Linked DNA regions of Homo sapiens: region 2 is linked to region 1. Evidence: promoter capture Hi-C in 16 types of primary human blood cells and fetal thymus (Javierre and others, 2016). All regions are on one chromosome and are shown on one strand. The core of a region is centred on a gene start or on the middle of the fragment in contact, and the rest is flanking DNA. Distances in the headings are between cores, read along the strand shown.

The links. Contacts are between HindIII fragments. The CHiCAGO score rates a contact against its expected background, and 5 or more counts as called.
Region 2: a contact is called between a fragment that was not itself captured here and the fragment with the promoter of EMILIN2 in region 1, in 2 of 17 cell types (monocytes and M1 macrophages). The highest score is 8.2, in monocytes.

What each region holds. Positions count from the first base shown.
Region 1 is chr18:2,843,153-2,849,669 of GRCh38, reverse strand. EMILIN2 (elastin microfibril interfacer 2) reads right to left here and starts at 2,664. Exons shown (of 8, transcript NM_032048.3): 1 at 2,348-2,664; 2 at 1,739-1,861. The coding sequence starts at 2,481. RefSeq lists silencers at 1,687-1,776, 2,397-2,446. The HindIII fragment of the contact is 11,570 bases long and covers 1-3,708 here.
Region 2 is chr18:2,748,162-2,754,425 of GRCh38, reverse strand. It overlaps SMCHD1 (structural maintenance of chromosomes flexible hinge domain containing 1), which reads right to left. Exons shown (of 48, transcript NM_015295.3): 31 at 4,304-4,383; 32 at 3,919-4,076; 33 at 3,033-3,148; 34 at 1,874-1,938. Among named protein-coding and RNA genes, the nearest start is that of SMCHD1, 96 kb to the right of the region's middle. The HindIII fragment of the contact is 2,871 bases long and covers 2,014-4,884 here.

The DNA of each region.
Region 1 (6,517 bases), core at 1,415-3,914:
TGGCTTTGTTTAATAAAACAACAGAAACATCTGTCATTTTTTATAATAATTCTGTTGTCCTACTCACTGGGTGGCAAAAATGCACTCCCACTGCCTTGCATTGACCTGCCAATCTGGAGGCGATTCACTCCCCACTGACAGCCAAGTTTCACTGAGTTTTGGTCAAATAGAACAATTAAATCATCCTTTGGTTTTCCAAGCAGCTAAAATAATTTGAGAAAATAAAAACAAGCCATCTTTTAAACAAAAATGCATTACCTCCCAAAATGAAAAATTCATTTATCTCCGAATTGTCACCAGTAAGTTTTAAGGTTATAGCAAGCCACACCATGCAGTTCTTGTATAAGATGAATAAAATATTCCTGACTAATAACTCAATTCTAATTTTAAACAAATGCATTCAAACTGAGTTGAATACTTAGTTTGTATCACTCCCACAGTGTAAAAACCTTGCTTGGTTCTGATGTCGTTGACTGCTGGCCATAGACGATGAGGTCTCAATCTTACTAAGAGATTAAGGTTGGATGACAGTACCTTATCTCTCTGACAATGTATCCAACTCAAAGAGATAGCCTAGCTGGGCATTCAATTTCAGCGTTTTCCACTGTATATTAGGAAATGGGGACCTCGTCTAAGTTTCTGTTTGTTTTACTTTGTTTTTGCCGAGCAGGAATTAGCTGAACCCTGTTGGCAGCTCCTCCAGAAGCCCACGTGGGGTGGACCCAGCGACCACTTCCCATAAGACTACAGGCTCATCTACTGTTCTCTGGAATAAGGTTTCCTGGAGTACAAGTTCCAGTCTGTCCCTTGGTTTTGCCAAAGACAGATCCGCCTACTGACTATTCTCTGCTGTAATGACAACTGTGCTCTAAGACAAACAACTTATTCTTAGTGGAAAACAATTAATTTCAGCCATCACATGTGTTCCTCAACAGCCATTTATTCACACTGGCCCATCTTCCGGTATCAGACTGATACAAAACCCCCAAAGACTTGCCTGATGACAATTGAATGAGTGTCATGTATTTAACGGCATTTGTACTTTATTGCATTGCTTCCTGTTTTTTTTTTTTTTTAAGATGGGGAAATCTTTATAAGCAAAAAGATGATTAATTCTTCCCCCTGTCTTTAACGGCCATTCTCTCCCACAATCTCTAGAGAATCTCCAAATCTAAGTTGCGGGGAGGGATGCTGGGGAGCCACACTTTTAAGCAAAGTGTTCCTGAGGTTTTAGCTTAGACATCTACAAAACTGGAAGATTCCGTTTTATGGGGACATACGGACAGAACTCACTCGTTTTAGAACACTACTTAGCCAAACCTCTCAGCGAATCCTATACGGAATAGTCTTTAGCAGTATACATTTTGGAATCTTCTGTGTGCCCCAGAACACACAATATGGATCCAATTAGATTCAGCTGCCTTATGTTACAAACAAACATTGAAAGGGAGAAAACAGAAGTGGGAGTGGGAGCTTTGTTCATCCTCTCCTACGCCCCCGCGACCCCACACTCCCGAGGCGCGCGCATCCTCCCCACTCACTCGGGCAGCACCCACTCCCTAAATAGCCCAGCGTGGCCGGTGCCCCGCGAGCGCTCGGAGCGCTTTTCCGCTGCGGGCTTTTCACCGGATCTGGAAGGGATTTACCGGAGGGACTGGAGCCCAGCGCAGCAACCCCACCCCACCCCCACCGCCCCGGCCCGGGCGCGCCCCGCCCGCTCCCCGGCTCCAGGACTTACACCAGCGCCGACGGACAGGGCATCTGGTTCCAGGCACAGTTGTACTGAGCCTGAATAAAACTCTCACTTCCCTCCAGCACGGAGCAGCTCACATTCTTGTTCACGATGTAGGCGCACCAGTTCCTGGGGTGCAGGAGAGAGAGGGAGAGGGGCACGGGGTAAACCCGGAGAACAATGAGGCCAGGGGAGAGGGGACTGCGGCACCAGACCGAGCGAGGGTCGGGGGGGCCCGTCGCCCTCTGCGGAGGCGGGAGCTTCACCGAGCAGACGCCGGAGGGTGCCCGGGTGCGCCTCTGGAGAGCGCGCGCCTGGACCCGACCAAGACGGGAAAGAAAAGCACCCATGGTCCCAGGGGCTCATGGAATTCCTGGGAGTCGTTTTCGGATCGCCCGGGTCTGCGGGACGCTCTCTGCGCCCACGCCCCCGGAGTCAGCTCTGCCTGAGGCGCCGGCTGCGGAGCGCGCGGTCCCCCGCAGAGGGAGCCGCCCGGGGAAGTCCAAGGGAGGCCCCCGGCTGCCGCTCGTCGTCTTTGGCAGGGCAGCTCTGGGGCTCAACTGGGGGCCGGGGAGGGGTAGGCGGTTTGGGGCCAGCCAAGGGGCGCGCACTTACTTGTTCCTGGCGCTGGGCCGCGCGGGATACCCGGGCTGCGGGCCGGCGTGGCACAGCCCCGCGCCAACCAGGGCCAGCAGCGCCAGCGCCCAGCGCCAGGGCACGCGGGGCCAGGGCCGTCTGGGCTGCCACATCCCGCGCGCAGCGGGCGCGCCCCGCCTGCCCGGGTCCGGAGCGCGGCGGATCGGGGCACCGGCCACAAGGCTGCCGGCGGCCAGGGCGCCGCCCGCGAAGGCAAGAGGCTCGGGCGCTTCGCGGCGCTCCAACCAGTGCTCCGCGGCCGCCCCCTCCGGCTTCTCGTTCCTACTTCTCCTTCTGCAGCCCCGTGCGCCCTGCGCTTCTCCCCGGTCCCTCAATGACGCACAGGTCCCCCCGGGTGCCGCCCTCTTTATTTCACTTCCCTCTCCGAAACGTGACTCTCCCCCCACCAAGTCTCCCCGTCTCCAGTCCCTTCGCTTCTCGGCAGGGGGCTCGGGGTGGAGGGGCGAAAGGGTTTGGGATAAGGGTCTACGTTACAGCATTTCCAATGACTCATTCCTTTGGTCTCTTCCCAGATGCCGAGCGACTCCGCCTCCCACCTTCCGACAGGCTCGCTCCCGGCCCCCCGGGACGCGGCCGCCGTCGGCGAGTCTGGCCGTCCTCGCGTCGTGCCTGGGTGCCAGCCTCCCGGGGCGAATGAGGGACATGTTTATCAGTCCCGCGGGGAGAGGAGTGGGGGCTCGACTCGAATTTCCTCCTCGGGCAAGACAGGGCCGTTCCCCCACCAGCTCCATGGACCTAGAGAGTCCAGGAGGAAACGAACGCTGGTTCTTTCTTTGCCCAACTCTGCCTTAGGCACCATCTGACAGTTTCCGAGGCCACGCGGGGGGCGGCAGGACAGGACAAGCCACAGCCCCGCCAATTCCCAGAGGCTGCTGCAGCTCAGCGTCCGGCTCTATCACTTACTGCAATTCTCCTCCAATTCTTGAAAGGTGATCTCACAGCCTCTGCTTCTGAGGTCCCACTGTGAACTTTCTTTTTCTATTGAAACTAAGGCATTTACTCACGTTTGCTTCTTAACAGTTCAGGCACTGCTAGACATCCGTCTTAAACTTTCTTGTATGTTTTCTGCCTGTTGTTGAGTTACACTAATCTCTACCGATGTCTTTTTGGGATGAAGTACCAGAATGTTAAGTAAAATCACCACCCAAGTGTTGTATTCTAAGGGGTGTTGGAGAGAGCTGTGTGTTTGAGATGACCTGCTGCATCTAATCAATGTACAGGGTCGTGAGTGGCGTGGTTACCAGACTCCACAGATAAAACTGTGGCCTCTGTGAGCTAACCAGACGCTGTTGGCCATGACTCGTTAAGTGAATAAAGCTTTGCTATGGGCCAGGCGGGGTGGCTCACGCCTGTAATCCCAGCACTTTGGGAGGTCGAGGCGGGTGGATCACCTGACGTCGGGAGTTCAAGACCAGCCTGACCAACATGGAGAAACCCCGTCTCTACTAAAAGTACAAAAAAAAAAAAAAAATTTGCCGGGCACGGTGGCACATGCCTGTAATCCCAGCTACTTGGGAGGCTGAGGCAGGAGAATCGCTTGAACCAGAGAGATGGAGGTTGCAGTGAGCCGGGATCTCACCACTGCACTCCAGCCTGGGCAAAAAGAGTGAAAATCTGTCGCAAAAAATAAAAAATAAAAACGTTTGCTATGTTCCTACTTTACTAAATGAAGCCATTGGTCTATTTTGTTTCTAATATTCTTTGATGGTGTTGTTGGACCTTTTGATTTGCAGATGAAAGAAAGAGAAGTCCCTAAGTAGAAACTACAAGGGCCAAGCAGAACATTATACCATGTAAGGACATCATCTGTCCCTGGACTCTTAAGCGGAAGATCATGCAAATAGTGGACTGAAGTCATCCCAGCCTTCAAAAGAGCCACCGTGGGGGGGAAATAACAGAAAGGGATAAAAAGCTGTCTTTCGTAACCCAATCTGTATCTTTCTGTGTGACTTCCCTATCCTGCCTGTCCTAACACCATCTTGGCCGTAAAGACTCATAGAGTAGAAACAGAGTATAGAAATGAAGAAGAGGAAGAGGGGGGGAAATGGGGGAAACACACAAGTTGTGTGTGTCTACAATTAGCAGAGAACAACTCCAATGTGTGTCTGGTACAGGTAAATCTCAAACTTGAAAGTGCATTGAACTGATCAAGTCAATCTGTTTTTTCCGTCAAATCAAAGTTATAATAGGAAGTTGTCTAAGAGTATAAGGGCCAACTTGTCATTGAGATGACCACAATACTATATTTAATCAGCTATCAATAACATTTATTGGTAAATAAATTTCATTCTGAGCATCTGTTACAAGCTAGGCATTGTGCAAAAATACTGAGGATTCATGAGTGAGCCCAAACTGACACGGGGCTTGTGTTTGGAGAGCTTCCAGGCATTGCCATGCAATGAAGGGTGTTAGCGTTCCTGATGGACAGTCAACTAAGTGAGCTAATGTTTATTGCATGTCTTTCTCTAGACATAAGCCCATGTATGTTATTGTGGGTCTGCCCCTGGAAGACAGAACATTCTTGACTTTCAGAAGGTTACTTCCCTCTTTTGTATTTTTATTTATTTATTTGGGGGAAAGGGTCTCACTCTGTCACCCATGCTGGAGTCCAGTGGCATGATCATGGCTCACTGCAGCCTCGACCTCCCAGGCTCAAGCAATCCTCCTACCTTAGCCTCCTGAGTAGCTGAGACCACAGGTGTGTGCCATTACACTCAGCTAATTTTTTGAATTTTTGGTAGTGATGGGATCTCACCACGTTTCCCAGGCTGGTCTTGAACACTTAATCTCAAGCCATCCTCCTGTCTTGGCTTTTTAAAGTGCTGGGATTTCAGGCATGAGCCACTGTGCCCGGCCTATTATTCCATTCTTTTACTTTTTTGTTTTTTTTTTTTCTCTTGAGATGGAGTCTTGCTCTCTCATCTAGGCTGCAGTACAGTGGTGCAATCATGGTGCACTGCAGCCTCGATATCCCTGGGCTCAAGCAATCCTCCTGCCTCAGTCTCCTGAATAGCTGGGACTACAGGCGCACACCACCATAACAGGCTGATTTTTTGTATACCATCACAGCTCACTATAGCCTCCAACTCCTGGGCTCAAGTGATCCTCCTACTTCAGTCTTCTAAGCAGCTAGGAGTACAGGCACACACCACCATGCCCAGCTAATTTTTTATTTTTTGTAGAGATGGGCGGGGGGGTCTAACTTTGTTGCCCAGGTTGATCTTGAACTCCTGGTTTCAAGCAATCCTCCTGCCTTCGCCTCCTAAAGTCTTGGGATTACAGGCATTAGCCACTGTGCCCAGCCACAAGGTTATTTCTTGATTTGAGGCCAAGATCCCAAGAGACCCTCTTTGTTTTCTCTACTCCAGCTGGAGGAAGGGATGCAACAAACTCAGGAACCAGAGAGCCCTGCATAAGAAACAAGACAGAGGGAAGCTTCCGGAGGATAGAGAGCTTCAGCACACTAAGAAACAGACTAATTGGGCAGGACTTCTGATCCCTGCCATGAACAATAACGTGGATATGACTGCCAGAAAGCTGCAAGTATGAATTTTTTATATGCTGCCAAGTACCTTAAGTGAGCACTTGAAAACTATATTTTATATAACAATCTGAAGGAATTTCTTCTGCTTTAAAAACAAGTGTCCCATAGTAACTTGGGACACACACCCTTGATTGTGTGACCAACTTACCTAAAGCAAAAATTCAAGGAAGAACTACTTCATACAATCCATTCTCTTATTCACTTGTGGGTCATGACGTAAGATGTTCATCAGGCTCTGTACGTGTTTAGGGACAGTTCTCTTGGAAGCAGTGAGCCTCTTGGGCCTCCAGCACACCCAGGTGCCCCCTCCATTGCCTGTTGGAAAAGGAAAGTGACTATCACTGAGGCAGCAGGCAAATACATTTCCCCTAGCCCCACCCCCGTCATCTGCGCAGGGGACATTTGATCAAGATGAACTGATTTGCATCTAGGATGTGGTCAAGAATCATGAGATTAGCCTTGTCTTTCCGCCCTTCTGATCCCTCATCTTCCCTTTTTTTTTTTTTTTTTTTTTTTGATACAGGATCTTGCTCTGTCGCCCAGGCTGAAGGGCAGTGGTGCTACCATGGCTCACTACAGCCTCC
Region 2 (6,264 bases), core at 2,200-4,699, 96 kb after region 1:
TGCTTTCCCTTGGACATCACCCCATGAGCTTTTTACCTTGCTCATTTCACTTTGAATCCTTTTGTTTCAATAAAACATAGCTATGAGCCCAGCTATATATTAAGTCCTGTGAGTCCTCCTGGTGAATCATCAAACCTGGCATTGGTATTGGGAACCCCCAACACAATAATATAGTAAAATGTGTTGATGACCTAAATGTAAGGAAAGACTTAAACAGGACACAAAGAAGATCAACTATAAAAAAGATGATTAACACATTTGCTTATATAAAAATTAACCACTGCTGTTCAAGATATCATAAAATGAGAAAGCAAGCCACAGGATAGGCAAAGATGTCTAAACAAAAGGCTTGTATCTCTAATATATAAAGAACTCCTACAAATTAATATAAAAAATAATACAAAAGTTATTAAGATACTCAAAAAAGGCACTTCACAAAAGGTAATCTAAGTGGCCAATAAATATATGATAAACAGGGAAATGCAAATTAAGAGTAAGTGTGATGCCACTCTATTACATGTCCACCAGAAGATTACACCTGAAAAGACCCACAAAACCGTGTTGGGAAGGGCCGGGCACGGTGGCTCATGCTTGTAATCCCACCATTTTGGGAGGCTGAGGTGGGCAGATGGCTTTGAGCTCAGGAGTTCGAGACTAGCCAGAGCAACTTGGTGAAACCCAGTCTCCACACACACACAAAATAAATAAATAAATAAATTTGCTGGGCATGGCAGCACATTCCTGTAGTCCTAGCTACTTGGGAGGCTGAGGCAGGGGGCTCGCTTGAGCCAGGGAAGCAGAGGTTGCAGTGAGCCACTGCACTCTAGGCATTGCACTCTAGCAAGGCTATGTATTAAAAAGAAATAAACCCTCAAGCTACTCAAGTTAAACACACACATCTATGTTTAACATCTATATTTAACATCTAACATACACATCTATATTTAAATATACACATCTATGAACTTATGACCCAGCAATTTTACTTTTATATGAGCACCAGTGTTATAAAGATTATTTGTAATAGCCCAAAATTGAAAATGCAAATAGCCATTAACAGAATGGAAAATAGTAGTGTGTTCACACAATGGACTTCTATACAGCAATGGAAATGAATGAATTTATAGCTATATGCCACAGAATCTCATGATGCTGAGTGAAAGAAGTCTTATGCAAAGGAAAATAATTGTATATCAAGTTCAAAAATGGGCACAACTAAATCAGAGACTATAGAGATGTATGCTAAGATAAACGGAACTCTAAATAAGACCAAATCAGGAGAGGGTTTGTGGTGTGTGCATGTGTGTGTCTACATGAGTGTGTGCATGGCATGCACAACAGGAAGGAAGACGGTAATAACTGGAAGAGGTAAGGGGTGGAGCTTCCATGATTGGTCCTTTACCAATTAGTCTGAAAAAGCACTGAACAAATATAATGAGCATTTTGACCCTATTGATGATAAAGGATTTGTAAAGAAACTTAACACATAATGTTTTTAGATTTGAAAATGGAGGTCCAGAATGAAGCAGCAACATGCTCAAAGTCACAGAAATGTTAAAAGCCAGTCTAATCTTTATAGAAACCTCCTATATAATAAGAAGTTATAAAGTGCCCTGACAACATAAAAGAATTCTTCTGATGGCTTCGATAGTTTCAAAAGCAAATACAATTACAATTTACAAAGCTTAAAACCAATTTAATGCTTAAAAACGAAAACACACCTTTTCCCAAAAAACTGAGAAAAATTTAGAGACACTAACATTTCTATTTGATCATAAATTACTTTTCCTCAGGTGAGCCCACATATATCTCCAGGGTTGAATTACTTTGTAACAAGATATGTATTCAAAATATGAAATGTTTTGAGAAATACCTGAAATAGAAGCAGCCATCTTCTTTGTCATTATCTTTTATTTTATTACAACTAAATGTTTCTGCCTAGAAAGGGGAGTAGGAGAGAAGGGGAGAGGGGAAAATGACAAAATTTAACATAGTATACTTAGGAGGAAAGCTTATTATATACCTAAACTGAATGTGTATCTGGATTCCATTTATAAACATACAGGTATATATACACACGTTTATATCTTCATAATACATGTAAGGTACAATGTGAGATTAGTGACAGTGGAAAGACACCCCATTATTAAAAGACACACAGTAGAACTTTATGGTGATATTATTTAAAGATAATACCAACTTGATTGGACTGATGGTCTAAATTAAGCAAGCAAAGATTCAGGATTAATTAAGCAAGATAGTTTCCAAAACCAATGATTAAAATGAACCATAAATGTTGAAGTAGATTATTATATCAGGACACTGATAAACTTTAGTTCCCAATTTTAGATTTATTTCAGATCTGCATTATCCAATATGGTAGCCAATGGCTATGTGTGACTACTGGGCACTTGAAATGTGGCTGGTCTGAACTGATATACAGTGTAAAATAAACACCAAATTTCATAGACTTGGTAAGATAAAAGAACGTAAAATCCTAGCAATAATTTTTAAACTATTGAATATATGTTGAAATGGTAACTTTTGATATATTAGGTTAAAAACATTAGAATTTTACTTATTTCTTTTTAGCTTTTAAATGTAGCTACTAGAAAGCAGAAACACCAGGTATGATCTTTCCACTGGACAGCACTGTTCTAGACCCTCTAACTCTCCACTCTCTTTCAAGCAGTCTATCAATCCTATCTCTTTACTATCTCATTTTCTATATTATCCCCTCATATTTAATAGCTTCTGCCTTGTGCTACTGTCCTTCAGATGAAATAATTTTAATGTGTAGGCATCTTAAAATGTTAAGAAACATCACAATGTAGACTACTCTTTTTCAATAGCATCAATCTTTAATTTTGAAACATACATTGATGTAATTTCTTTAACCCCAAAGGAATGAAGTAAATTCACTTCCATTTCTCAAATTTATATAACATTATATATTTACATTAAAGGAGACTTAGTTTTAAGTTAAATGTAAGAACTATTTTTAACTTCAAAAAATGCTTCCCATGACTCACATTTGCTGGGGGTCGGTTCCCACTGGTAGACAGCTTCCACATTTTCATGGAAATACGTGCTGGATTAATGTTTTTAATGATACTGTCATCTTCAGAAATAACACTAATCATAAAATCTGTCATGGTAAACGTTAAAAAATTATCTCTTTCTAGTTCAATTAATGGATATGGTTAAATAATTGTATGCCTTAAAGCAAACATCTTATTTAAATGTTTAAAGCACACGTTATTTAAATGTTAATACAATTCTGATGAAGAAATGTATAAATTCTAGCATACAAGACCAAAAAGACTAGAATGTATACTCAGCAACTTAAGAGTTAGGCCAATTGGTCATAGCACCATATGCTTTATGTATTCCAAGAACAGAATATTTACTTTCTTGTATGATTTTCGATAGCATATAATAGCCAAAAGATCAATATATATAATATTCCCATTATATTTACCACCTGTAACATTCATTTGGCACCTGTTACTAATTTTTTAATCACAGGAAATAGATCTCCCTGAAATAGATTTAAAACTTTATATACGGTATAGTCTACTTTATAGGGTAAAAAAAGCTATGTATACATGTAACTTGATTATTAAAAATTATTGTCAACAATTTTTAAATCTAAACTTTGAGGTGCTTCATTCACTACTTAAAACTATGTATAGGGATTCATCCTTTTAAGAAAACAGAAGTCTTCCAGAAAATTATTTGTGTAAAACAAAAACTAATTTCCTATTGACTTAACATCTGCAACATGATATTGAAATCATTTGCTTCCCTGTCTCCTACATTAGACTGAGCACACTTAACCTAGGATAAGTAATTTATTCCACTAATGTACAAAGCAAATTATCATTATAGATTTATTTATGTATGTGAAATACTCACCAGTGAAAAGACCCCCTGCTAAGAAGGATGCATCTTTGTCATATTTAACATTGAGACGAACGGGTTTTTCTGGGTCTGGAAGAATCATTAACTTAATTATAGGTCCTTCTATGATACTTTTGTTATAGATGGCTTTAACCTGAAGAGTATGCTCTCCCCTAACAAAACAAAAGAGGAGAGGGGTTCAAATTACATTAGTTAATAACCTAAAAATTCTGAGACAATTTATGCAAAGTTCAACTCTTAGAAAAACCTCTCAACTTCTATTCAGTCCCAACTCTTGCCTAACATTAAACAGAAGGATAGTCATTAGCTGTAACTTCGGCAAGCAGTAAGAAAAACGAATCTCTATAACACCAACAACTATCAAACTTTTGGTTCTTACCTAGGGGCAAAAACACTGAATACTCCCAAATTAGCCCTGCCTTTCTCATCTGTTTTATGCTGTTGGTTTGAAGGCATGAGCTAAAAACAAAACAAAACAAAATGGTTAATTAGAAAATTCTAGAGATCAATCAAGTTCTTTTCTTCCATTACAATGTTCTTTCCCTCTATTCCTATTTTAAAAGCAGTATTTGCATACTTCTAAAATCTAAATTTTAAAAATCTGAACTAGTTGGAATAATGTAGTATGTAATGATATAATCCAAAGTAGAATAACAATCACTCATCTTGATCAATTTCACTAGAATTTAATGTATTTCAGTTACTAAGTTGCAGATTTCTAGTTCACTGTTTCAATATCACTGATAGATCAAATGAAGTTTGTTTACACAAACACAGAAGGTATATTCTAAAGCTGGGGCAGGTATAGGGGACTGCACTGGAGAAATATATACTGTACACACATACTCAAGTCAAAGCATCATAGCACTATCTTCATTCTTCATTTTTCTCTTGAAAGTCTACTCAGATACACTTCTCAAATTTTTGCTGCAATACTACATTCACAGTGATAACCAAGCTTTCACTTTCAAGAGATTAAGAATCAGTGGCCACATTTCCTAATAACTGGTCTAGAAGGGTCTCTCAGCCTTTTACAGATGGTTCTCCAGAAACTAGAATCATATCTTTATTCTGGGGTTGAAAGTAATCATTGTCTAACTCTACTGGAAGCAAACATTCAGAATAACAGTGAATTTGTAGACCACAGTAGAAGAAAAATCAGACTTTCTCCCAAATCCTAAAACCCATCTCAACTTAATAGAACCTAAAGAGTAGGTAATAATGGTACATGCAGACAGGAAAAGCAATAGCTGAACAGGAAAAAATGAGAAAGGGTACTTGAAATGATAGGATGAAATCCTATGTTTATACCTGTCCCAATTACCCTCTGGTCCATTGTCTCTCAACCCATCTTTCTCAAAGTATGTCTCCCATCTGGGTATCAAATCCTTACTGCTAAGCCAGAGAAGTAAGTCTTTTCAGGTCTTAGAGCAGCAGTATCATAGCCTCATTTAACAGACTCATTTAAAAACTCCAACTGTAATTACTATGAAAACAGGTCCATGTGTAACAAGCCATTCTTGGCACTTTAATCTTCCATACGACTTTTAAGATCACCTTTTCAGGTTCTGGGAAATCCCTGTTGGGATTCTGATTGAACTATAAATAATTGCAAGAGAAACATCATCTTTACATGATATCAACTGGTTTCTCCATTACATTTATATTTATTTTTTATATGTGGAGGGATACTCAAGATTGTCTGAATATGACCCCAACTCCCTCTGGCTTGCTTAGCAACAACCTGGCTGGGACCAATGAATTCCCTTCAACCAACAGAAGAGACAGTATAAAAATACAACTTTATGGCCAGGCGCAGTGGCTCACACCTGTAATCCCAGCACTTTGGGAGACCAAGGCGGGTGGATCACCCGCGGTCAAGAGTTTGAGACCAGCCTGGCCAACGTGGTGAAACCCCGTCTGTACTAAAAATACAAAAATTAGCTGGGCATGATGGCACATGCCTGTAATCCCAACTACTCAGGAGGCGGAGGCAGGAGAATTGCTTTGAACCTGGGAGGCAGAGGTTGCAGTGAGCCAAGATCACGCCACTGCACTCCAGCCTGGGGCGTTGCAGCGAGACTCTGTCTCCAAAAAAAAAAAAAAAAAAATTTATATACACACACACACACACACACACACACACACACACACACACAACTTTGCAAAGACTAGCAGCTTTTCCTCTTTCCCCTAGAAGGAGTGCCTCCAACTTTGCACCAGCCACTAGATCCCATGCAGCTTCTCAATACTCATAGGAATAAATGATACCTAATCTTGAACTTTCTGGTAGTCAAGACTGTTCCCAAACTTTACAAGACCATGTTCATACTTGCCCCA